2 separate regions of the Homo sapiens genome follow, and region 2 is linked to region 1. Evidence: promoter capture Hi-C in 16 types of primary human blood cells and fetal thymus (Javierre and others, 2016). All regions are on one chromosome and are shown on one strand. The core of a region is centred on a gene start or on the middle of the fragment in contact, and the rest is flanking DNA. Distances in the headings are between cores, read along the strand shown. Region 1 holds the start of SNX27 (sorting nexin 27). Region 2 overlaps S100A10 (S100 calcium binding protein A10).

Region 1 (4,923 bases), core at 1,571-4,070:
CGAGTAGCTGGGACTACAGGTGTGCACCACCACACCCGGCTAATTTTTGTATTTTTAGTGGAGACGGGGTTTCGCCATGTTAGCCAGGCTGGTCTCAAACTCCTGACCTCAGGTGATCCACCCACCTCGGCCTCCCAAAGTGTTGGGATTACAGGCGTGAGCCACCGTGCCTGGCCCATGGTTCCCGTTTTATATACAAATAGTATCATGTTGTATAGATTGTGCTGCACTTTGTTTTCACCAAATCATATATAGTATTGATGATATGATCATTCCATATAAGTGCATACAGAGCTTCCTTATTCTGTGTTTACATTGATTCAATTTTCCATTGTGGATACATTATGATTTAACAAATAAACATTAGGTTGTTTTCAGTCTTTTGTGAATACAAACAATGCTGCAATGACTTAACTTCATAAAAACATCACTTCACACATGTGCAAGTGTAACAGTAGAATGAACTCCTGGAAGTGGAATCGCCTTCAGTTTGAGGAATATGTGTATTTGTAAGTTTGACCATGTCCTGTTGCCTTTCGGGGACATTCAGTATATTTTTATCTAATTCAGAGTAGGCATTCAGTATATTTTTATCTAATAAACCAATGAAAAAATAACTCTTTTAGGGGAGGCTCCCTTCTTTTTCCTTTCTCTGATGCCTTGCTTTCCCCATCCAGTGCTCAGTTCAAACCAAATTATTCATATTCAATCCAAATGCCACTATTATTTTGGAGCAAAACTCTTATATCAACTTTATTGTGTAACTAGTCAAGATCCTTCTTCATTAGCTTGGTTGTAAAATAAGGTCATATTAATTTTTATGTTCTAATTATAATGACTTTGAGTCCTCATCCCATATTTTGTGAGATCTCATCTTTGTTTTTTGGAGACAGGATCTCACTCTGATGGTCAGGCTGGAGTACAGTGGTGTGATCTCAGCTCTCTGCAGCCTTGACCTCCTAGGCTGAAGCGATCCTCCCACCTAAACCTCCTAAGTAGCTGGGACTACAGGTATGTGCCATCATGCCCAGCTGCTTTTTTTTTTTTTTTAGATATAGTCTCGCTCAGCCACCAGCTAATTTTTTATTTTTTGTTGAGATGGGGTCTCACTATGTTGCCCAGTTTGGTCTTGAACTCCTGGGCTCAAGGAATCCTCCCACCTCGGTCTCCCAAAGTGCTGGTATTACAGGCATGAGCCACCACACCCAGCCTTTAAAAATTTGGGGGGACTCTTTTGTAATAACAGTTAGCTTAAAACACAAACACATTGTACAGATGTACAAAATATTTTCTTTCTTTATATCTTTATTCCATAAGCTTTTTTTCTATTTAAGGCAATTTTTAATTTTATGTTTTAAACTTTTTTTTTTGGTTAAAAACTAAGACTTAAACACAAACATAGCCTATGCCTACACCAGATCTGGATCATCAATTTCACTGTCTTCCACCTCCATCTCTTGTCTCACTGGAAGGTCTTCATGGGTAATAACATGCACAGAGCTGTCATCTGATGGTAACAATAACTGGGGCCAGGCACAGTGGCTCACACCTGTAATCCCAGCACTTTGGGAGGCTGAGGTGGTTGGATCACCTGAGGTCAGGAGTTCGAGACCAGCTTGGCCAACATGGTGAAACCCTGTCTCTACTAAAAATACCAAAAAATTAGCCAGGCATGGTGGCGCATGCGTTTAATCGCAAGGGATTTGGGAGGCTGAGGCAGGAGAATCACTTGAACCTGGGAGGCAGAGGTTGCGGTGAGCCGATATCGTGCCATTGCATTCCAGCCTGGGCGATAAGAGCGAAACTCCATCTTAAAAAAAAAAAAAACAAAAAAACAAAACAAAACAAAAAAACACAATACTTGGAATACGTGGAAAAAAATCACAATACTTAGAATACCTAGAATACCTTCTGAAGGACCTGCCTGAGGCTGCTTTACAGTTAACTTAAAAAAAAAAGTAGAAGGAGTACACTCTAAAATAGTGATAAAAACTACAGTGAATTCATAAACTAGTAACATAGTTCTTACCATTATCAAGTATTATGTACTGTACATAATCATATGTGCTATACTTTCACATGACTGGCAGTGCAGGTTTGTTAACACCAGCATCACTCCAAACATGTGAGTAATGCTTGTGCTATGACCTTATGGTGGCTACTGTGCCACTAGGTGATAGACATTTTTCAGCTCCATTATCATCTTAGGGGGCCTCCCTCGTGTTTGCAGTCCATTGTAGACCAAAATGTCCTTATGTGGCACATGACTGTAGTTGCAATACAGGACAAGAAAGTTGCACAATAACTGGGCCTTAGTTCCTGATACTTAGTAGCTGGATGACTTTGAGCACTCTAAGGTTGTTTCCTAATAACGTAAAATAGGGAAGCTAATCGTGATCCGGTTGCCTCACAGGTTGTTGGGCCCTGGTCAACATATAAGTTACTGTGCCAAAAAATGAGTTGATATAATTTAAGACTGTGTTGAATCACAAACGTTAAGTTATTCTAACATTATTGTTTTTTAGAGGTTATGAAATGAAAGGGGGGGGGGCGAAAAACTTGGTCCGCATCAAGAACTGAATCATTTTACCACGCTGGGTGCTGGGTTATACTCTCCCCACCCAGCAGATCAAACTCCTAACCCAGCATGAAAGATAAACTACAACTCCCGGCAGGCCTTGCTTCCGAACTGCGTCTTATAACCTCGGCTCAGGCCCAGGCCCAGACCGCTCCCCGCCCCCGCCACCCATAAACTACATCTCCCAGGAGGCCCCACGGTGCCCGATTGTCCGCTTTTCGCCCGCCCCCTGCCTCCTCTTCACCCCGCGCCAGCAGCTCGGTGGCCGAGTCGGTCCCGCGGCCGGCGGATCGGGCGCGCGCGTCGGGGGTCGTCCGGCTGCCAGGCAGGGCGAGCACGCGCCGGGAGGCCTTGGAGGCGTAGGGGGCGGGGGTACGGCTCGCCTGCTCGCAAGATGGCGGACGAGGACGGGGAAGGGATTCATCCCTCAGCCCCTCACAGGAACGGAGGTGGCGGCGGCGGCGGGGGGTCTGGGCTCCACTGCGCCGGGAACGGCGGCGGGGGAGGCGGCGGCCCGCGGGTCGTGCGCATCGTCAAGTCCGAGTCCGGCTACGGCTTCAACGTGCGGGGCCAAGTGAGCGAGGGCGGGCAACTGCGGAGCATCAACGGGGAGCTGTACGCGCCGCTGCAGCATGTGAGCGCCGTGCTGCCCGGGGGGGCGGCCGATCGGGCCGGGGTGCGCAAGGGGGACCGCATCCTGGAGGTGTGAGTATCGGGGCTACCCGCCGCCCCATCCTCCCCGCGCCCCTCCTGCCCCTGCACTCCTCGCTACCCTTGTCACCCCCAGGCCGCACCTCCCCCGAGCTCCGAGCCGGCCTCCGGACCCCCGCCCCTCAGGCCTCCGCAGCCGGGCCCCTCCTTGTGGGCTGCCCTCCCACCACCCGCCCCGGGGCTTCTGCGACGCCGGTCTCCCACCCCGTCGTCTCCAGCTGATGCCCTTGCGCCCCCAGTGCTCCTCCCTGTGCCCCGATTACTCTGGGCTCTTCTCCGCCCCTTTGCCTTCCCGTTTGGCGTGCTGCATTCTGCTCCTCACTCCCCCTCGTCTTGCTCAGAAGGAACCTCATCTGCTCCTTACTGACGGCGTTTCGTTTTCTGATCCAGCCAGTACCGTGTCCCCCCCAAGTTCTCATCTTCAGCATCGCAGTTTCGTTCTCCACCACTCCCCTCCGCCCCCGTGGACTGCCCCTTCTGCCCTCCAGACCAAGTAGGCAGGACCTCTGGTCTGCTCCTACTTTTCCTCCGGAAACACCATCCCTCCCCGCTCGTCTCCTTTTTCTTTCCTTAGTTACCCTCTCCTCATGGTTACGCTGCCCCTAAATTTTTCCATCCCACCGTGTGCCCCTTTCCTCCCCTCCTTTTTGTATTTCTACTCCAAGAGTTTACCTTGCTTTCTGACCCTTGCATGCCTTTGGGGTGGGGGGCGTGGGATTTGACACCGTAGTTTCTCTTCTCGGTTGGCCCCGTATCACACCCTAATTTGGAATCTAGCGTCTCCATCAGCACACCCCTCTGAGAGCATCCCTTCCCTGGCCTCCTGCCTTCACTCCTGCTCTATACTCATGCCTCCTCCTAGTCAGGTTTATGGTAGACCCCTTGTAACTCCTCCTCCTTCAAAACTACTTCAAGCCCTTTTTGGGTCTTTGACCGCTTTGCTTTTTTAGGGCATGCCCGTCTCTGCTGCCTCTTCTACTCTATCCTCCTGTGATCCCACACTTGACTTTGTCCTAGTCTTTCCCTCCCCTAGGCTGCTTTTCCTTTCTTCTGTTTTTTAAGGCGCCTTCTGCTGCTGCAGCCCACCCTCTCTCCCCTGCTGCAGTCCCTCCCCCTTCATACGCCTCCCCCACCACATCCCTCCATGCTCTTGCGGGATGCTGCCTTGTCTTGCAATCTCTGTGCACACCGCCTCCATTACCCTAATCTAGGTGTTACATTTGCCTTTTTGTACTTCGTATTGAAATTCGGATAGTGATTGCCGGTTGACTTGCAGGTGGTGTGTGCTCGCGTTGTCTCCGTTCTCCTCAGCAGTCTTCAGTGCTGTGTTTCTGCTTACTGAATCTATGTTGTGCATTCCTTTTTTACACTTTTACTCTCTCCCTCCATATTTCGATTTGCCCACTTGAAATCGTTCTCATTTTTTATAAATTTTAATTGTAATTTCCGCAACCTTCTGTTGCCTCTTGTAAAACAGTAGGTTTGCAAAAGGGATAGTTTTTTGAAAATCTGCCTTATAGAGAAATCCATTCCTTCTTACTCATCTCGTGCCATCTACCCTTATCCTTGACATTCTTAACTCCATGGTGTCCACTCATTCTGTTTCCTCACCTCTTCCACCTCAAGAAATGGTT
Region 2 (4,923 bases), core at 1,265-3,764, 380 kb after region 1:
TCACTCAAATGCAATCACCCCAGCCCATTCTATTCTTTAGTTCTATGAAATTCAGTGTTTAAGATTCCACATGAGTGAGATCATCTGGTAATTGTCTTTCTGTGCTTGGCTTATTTCACTAAGCGTAACGTCCTCCAGGTTCATCTTTGTAGATTTACATTAACTTTTAAGCCATATGTATTGCCAGCCTTTTTAGGATAATTGGAAAGATGGAGATTAGATCATCCATCTGATCTTCTCCAGCTTTAAAATTCAGTGAATGAATCTAAGAACCAGTCCACCCCAGTTTGGGTCCCTTGTTGGTAGAAATAGACACCTCAGATACTGGTGCTGTAAATAAAGGGGTTTAGCTAACTCCAGCTAATTTGCATGAATAATCTAATGAAGAATAGAAACTAATAATTTAGAAAAGCAACATCAGTGTTCCTCTTTTTTTTTTTTTTTTTTTTTTTTTTGAGACGGAGCTTTGCTCTTGTTGCCCAGGCTGGAGTGCAGTGTTGTGATCTTGGCTCACTGCAACCTCCGCCTCCCAGGTAGCTGGGATTACAGGCGTCCGCCACCATGTCCGGCTAATTTTTTGTATTTTTAGTAGAGGCGGAGTTTTGCCATGTTGAGCAGGCTGGTCTCAAACTCCTGACTTCAGGTGATCCGCCCACCTCGGCCTCCCAAAGTGCTGGGATTACAGGCCACTGCGCCCGGCCCAGTGTTCCTCTTTTTAACTGACAAAGCACCTACTGAAAGAACAGATAGTTCATAATTTCTCTTGGCACTAGTAAATGGGATTCTTAGATATGGCTGATACTAACAATCCACACAGTCAAGTCTGGTAAATACGAAAACTTCACCCTTCTAAGCTTAAAGTGGTAACTTGGTTCAGTGTGATTCTAGGGTTTAGAAATCTGCTTACAAATGAATTTATCTGCTGGGTATATATGTATTCTTTTTTTTTTTTTTTTTTTGAGACGGAGTCTTGCTCTGTTGCCCAGGCTGGAGTGCAGTGGCGCCATCTCGGCTCGCTGCAAGCTCCGCTTCCTGGATTCACGGCATTCTCCTGCCTCAGCCTCCCGAGTAGCTGGGACTACAGGTGCCCGCCACCGCGCCCGACTAATTTTTTTGTATTTTTAGTAGAGATGGGGTTTCACCGTGGTCTCGATCTCCTGACCTCGTGATCCGCCCACCTCGGCCTCCCAAAGTGCTGGGATTACAGGCGTGAGCCACTATGCCCGGCCTATATGTATTCTTTACTAAAGCTCTGAACTTGTTATTTACTGCAATAAAGACAGTTGCATCTCTGGCAGTAAAATACAGTTGCTCTACCCAAACAGAAAACTACTCAAAGTCCATTGTCTAGTTCACTTGAGAAGCAACAAGTAATACTATAACCTAACTCATTTGAGGGCCTCCTATGTTTTTAGTGACATTAGACAGATGAGCTGCTCTCACAGTCTGGGGTACAGTGGGAAAGCAAGAGCTTTCATCATGAAGCGTTTATAAGAAAGGAAAGGAAACATGTCAGATCATTACATTTGGGTATAATGAACTAGGGGTATATGTCTCACAAGACCCAGTACGTGGTACTTAATAGAACCTCAGTGAATTTTGGCTTAATTGGAAGGAATCATTTGGCGAGAACAGATAAGCTTTGGCTAATATCACCTAAAATCACTACTGGATAGGAAACAGGTGAACGTGAATGGAGACTGTAATATAGCACTAAAAAATAAAAATAAATAATCACAAGAATAGGCTTTGAGCTTAGATTGAAGGGCTGGCAAATTCCTCTGCTGAAGAGCTCTAATGGGAACCTGAGACATGCTTTGGTCTGGTTCCTATCTCTGAGAGATGCCTGTTCAACACTGATTCTCAAATGCTATCTTTTACAGAGGAGAAGGTGGAGTGGGTAAACATGAGGATTGAGCAATTAACACTTAAGAATTGTAAATTCTACCCCTTAATCTCCAGAAAAGTATGGGAACCAGCAGGCCAAAGAATGCTATAAATCAGAATCTGGCATGAGTCATCTGAAAGGCAGTTAGTTATCTTGGAGAGAGCTGCAAATTAATGCTTCAAGGTCTGCTGTGAGATGAATTCCAGGGGAACCACACCCTTTTCCTTCTCTTCTGACACAGCTCAGATCTGGCTCATCCCCCATCCCTCATATGGGTTTCAGATGGCAGTGGGCTTACAGAGAGTCTGCCTTGCCTGGACTGGTACTCCAAGTCCAGCAATTTAAGAGAACTGAACTGGGCGAGTCACCTCTGGGAGAAGGACGTGGGATCCCACCCCAGTTCTTAAATAACTCAGGAAAGGAGTCAGACACCACAGAGGTTTAAAAATACCTGTGCTCAAGTTCAGAGCAGCAGAGCACTTCAGGATCAATTCCCAAAGATCCCAGAAATTGGAACTGGGTGGGGTACCTAGTTTACTTTTTTCAGATGACAGGACAGAAGGAAAGTGCAGAATTAAGAAAGGGAATGCAGCAGGGTAAGGACCTCTAAATTTTAAAAAGGCTAATTTTAGGAGGTTCTAAGAAATACAAGTTGTCAGCTGAGGAAATCCTGGCCACCCTTGAGTATCTTCTTCAGGAGAGCAAGGTGAGTCTACCTCACACTGTGTGAGTGCTTAGGTCTGAAGTCACTCAGTCGCATGCCTCTCTTGCCCACAGCCATTACGAAGTGACGGAGCTTCCTTCTCTGAAGTTACATCCTTCTCCCACTTGGTCTTCCCCTCCCCTCCTCCCCCAGCGGTTTTATTCAGTGGATGGATTGTGAATATTGCAGCCAGCTGACTCCCTGTGTGTCCAGTAGGCCTTCTGCAATAAGGATGCAGAGGAGGGAGTAGCCAGGAGGTGAAAATAGCATTGAAAATCAGTGGAGAAGCCCTTGTCTCCTCAGCAACCAGTACCCCAAAGGGCACTGACCAGGGCCACAGCAAGGAACTCTGTTTTGGGGAAGGAGTTGCACACTGGCTTTAAAATAAGACAAAGGAAAGGGGGAAATGTTGTGATTAAAACTCTGTTCTCTTGGCTAGAGGATGAATCATGTAACTCTTGTCTGAGTGCAGCCAATGGTTGCCCAACTGAGTCAGCCCTGCCTGGCCCTCCGTTCTTGGGTGGGGCTTGCCTGGGCAGGGCTGTCTGCAGCACTGCTAGCTGCCAAAACTGAAGTTCTTCAGGGACTTCAATCTGGCATTTCCACCCTCACGTAGCCACTCTGCAAGCTCTATTCCTGGACAGATGTGGGCTTCCTGCATCCTGGTTAGACACATTTTGACAGGAGGGCCTTGGGGCTGGGGCTGAGGGGCTGCAGTGTCCTCTCTATCCCCAATAACGTACTCTTGCACCTGAAACATTCAATTTCATTTAATTGTTTACTTGTCTGCCTGAGATTTAAGCTTCTCTTGATTAAGAACTACAAATTATTCTGCTTTTATTCATGGAGCACTATATAACTGTTATGTGCATAAATGAACCACACAATCCCTTGGGCAGTAGCTGAGGTGCAGGTGTGATTACCCAGGACTAGGCTGAAAGCCTTGTAGCTCAGAGCTCAGGAGGACGATGTGAGAGCTGGGAAGGGCCAGGAAAGGGGCCCCAAAAGTGTTCAACTATGAACGGAACAGTAGATAGAGTACACAGGAGTGCACATTCCATACGCAAAAGGAAAAATATGTGTCCTGCTAAACAGGTCTAGTCAGAATGACATGACTGTGCTCCTTCTCTTCTAACACTTGCTATTTTCTCGTGTTTCATTCATCCCATCTTCTACTTTTTGCTTTTCTAGTGCTGCTATCTCACTGCTGAGCTCCACAGGATAATAACAGCCTTGCTGTCCACTCACCTTTTATTGAAGTATTCTAATCTGATGCCTATACATGCCCTCTACATGTTTGTCTGAGCAACAGGTCTTAAGAAGGGAGGCGGAGACATCTTTCTCTGCATAGTTTTCTCTATGGAAAACAATTCTGGACTCCACAAATTTAGTTACCTTAGGAGGAATTCAATTTTCCATTTTTGGTTCTCCCTCCCTGAGCACCTACTTTGAATGTCCCAGACATGGTGTTAGGCATGAGGGTGTTCACACACACATACACACATGCACACACACACAAAGCTCTCCATGGTGCTTGCCTTTGAGGAGTTCACCAGCTAATGGAATACTATTAAAGCATTTGGCCTGAATTCTAGTTATTTGTGTTTCTGTTTCTTTCCTCACTAGGTTGCAGGTTTTTTGAGCAGGGTCCCAATAGCCAGTGCCCCAGCCCTCATAGAGCCTGCTCGATGAATTGTTAAGAAATTGATAATGATGTATTTTGGTTGTCCTGCGAGTAGCAGACAAGCAGGAGTCCTCCTCAGAAAAGTGTCTGCTCCTGAAAAATCTCAAATGTTTGCTTTGGACCTATGCCCAGATCCCGGCTGCAGTTTCAAAGAGGACACTTCTGCAGAGTGAGTCGGACTTGCTTTGCTCCTCTGTGTCTTGTCCATACCCTAGTTTTCTTACAGCCCACCCAGAAAATAAACGGCAGGGTGTCAGTAAAAACAAACATCTGTTATTTAAAATATGTTTGAGGTTTCCTTCCTTTTGCTTTAGAAATTTTGGAGTTTTTAAAATTGAACCCAGAAGGCATTCTTAAATTTGATCTCTGAAGGGAATTCAGAAAAAATGAGTTGAAGCAATGGATCTGGATCCAGGCTGTCTCTCTCACCTCTCACCAACTAAAACTTGCCCACTAAAGAACTGGGCAGCAAAGGAACGTTTCAGATGCAATTCAATAGGAAGAAAGAACTTGGAAGAAACCTCCTTCAATCTAACCAACTACATCAATTTTTCCTTAAAGAATGCTTAGGCATCAGCCTAATCAGCCAACATAGCTACTGTCAAAACTGCTTTTAGTTAAATCCTTTGGTAGGATGGGTGGTATTTA

The links. The method cuts DNA at HindIII sites, captures the fragments that hold promoters and counts their contacts. A CHiCAGO score of 5 or more calls a contact.
Region 2: a fragment that was not itself captured here is called in contact with the fragment with the promoter of SNX27 in region 1 in 3 of 17 cell types (total CD4 T cells, naive CD4 T cells and total CD8 T cells); the score reaches 5.6 in total CD4 T cells.

Annotation. Positions count from the first base shown.
Region 1 is chr1:151,609,230-151,614,152 of GRCh38, forward strand. It overlaps SNX27 (sorting nexin 27), which reads left to right and starts at 2,821. Exons shown (of 12, transcript NM_001330723.2): 1 at 2,821-3,283. The coding sequence starts at 2,973. LOC124904420 (a long non-coding RNA gene) reads right to left here and starts at 4,139. Exons shown (of 2, transcript XR_007066622.1): 1 at 3,962-4,139; 2 at 1,288-3,170. RefSeq lists an enhancer at 2,597-2,696 and a silencer at 2,737-3,176. The HindIII fragment of the contact is 5,045 bases long and covers 1,316-4,923 here.
Region 2 is chr1:151,986,599-151,991,521 of GRCh38, forward strand. The region is part of intron 1 of S100A10 (S100 calcium binding protein A10); the gene reads right to left. Among named protein-coding and RNA genes, the nearest start is that of S100A10, 4.8 kb to the right of the region's middle. The HindIII fragment of the contact is 1,753 bases long and covers 1,639-3,391 here.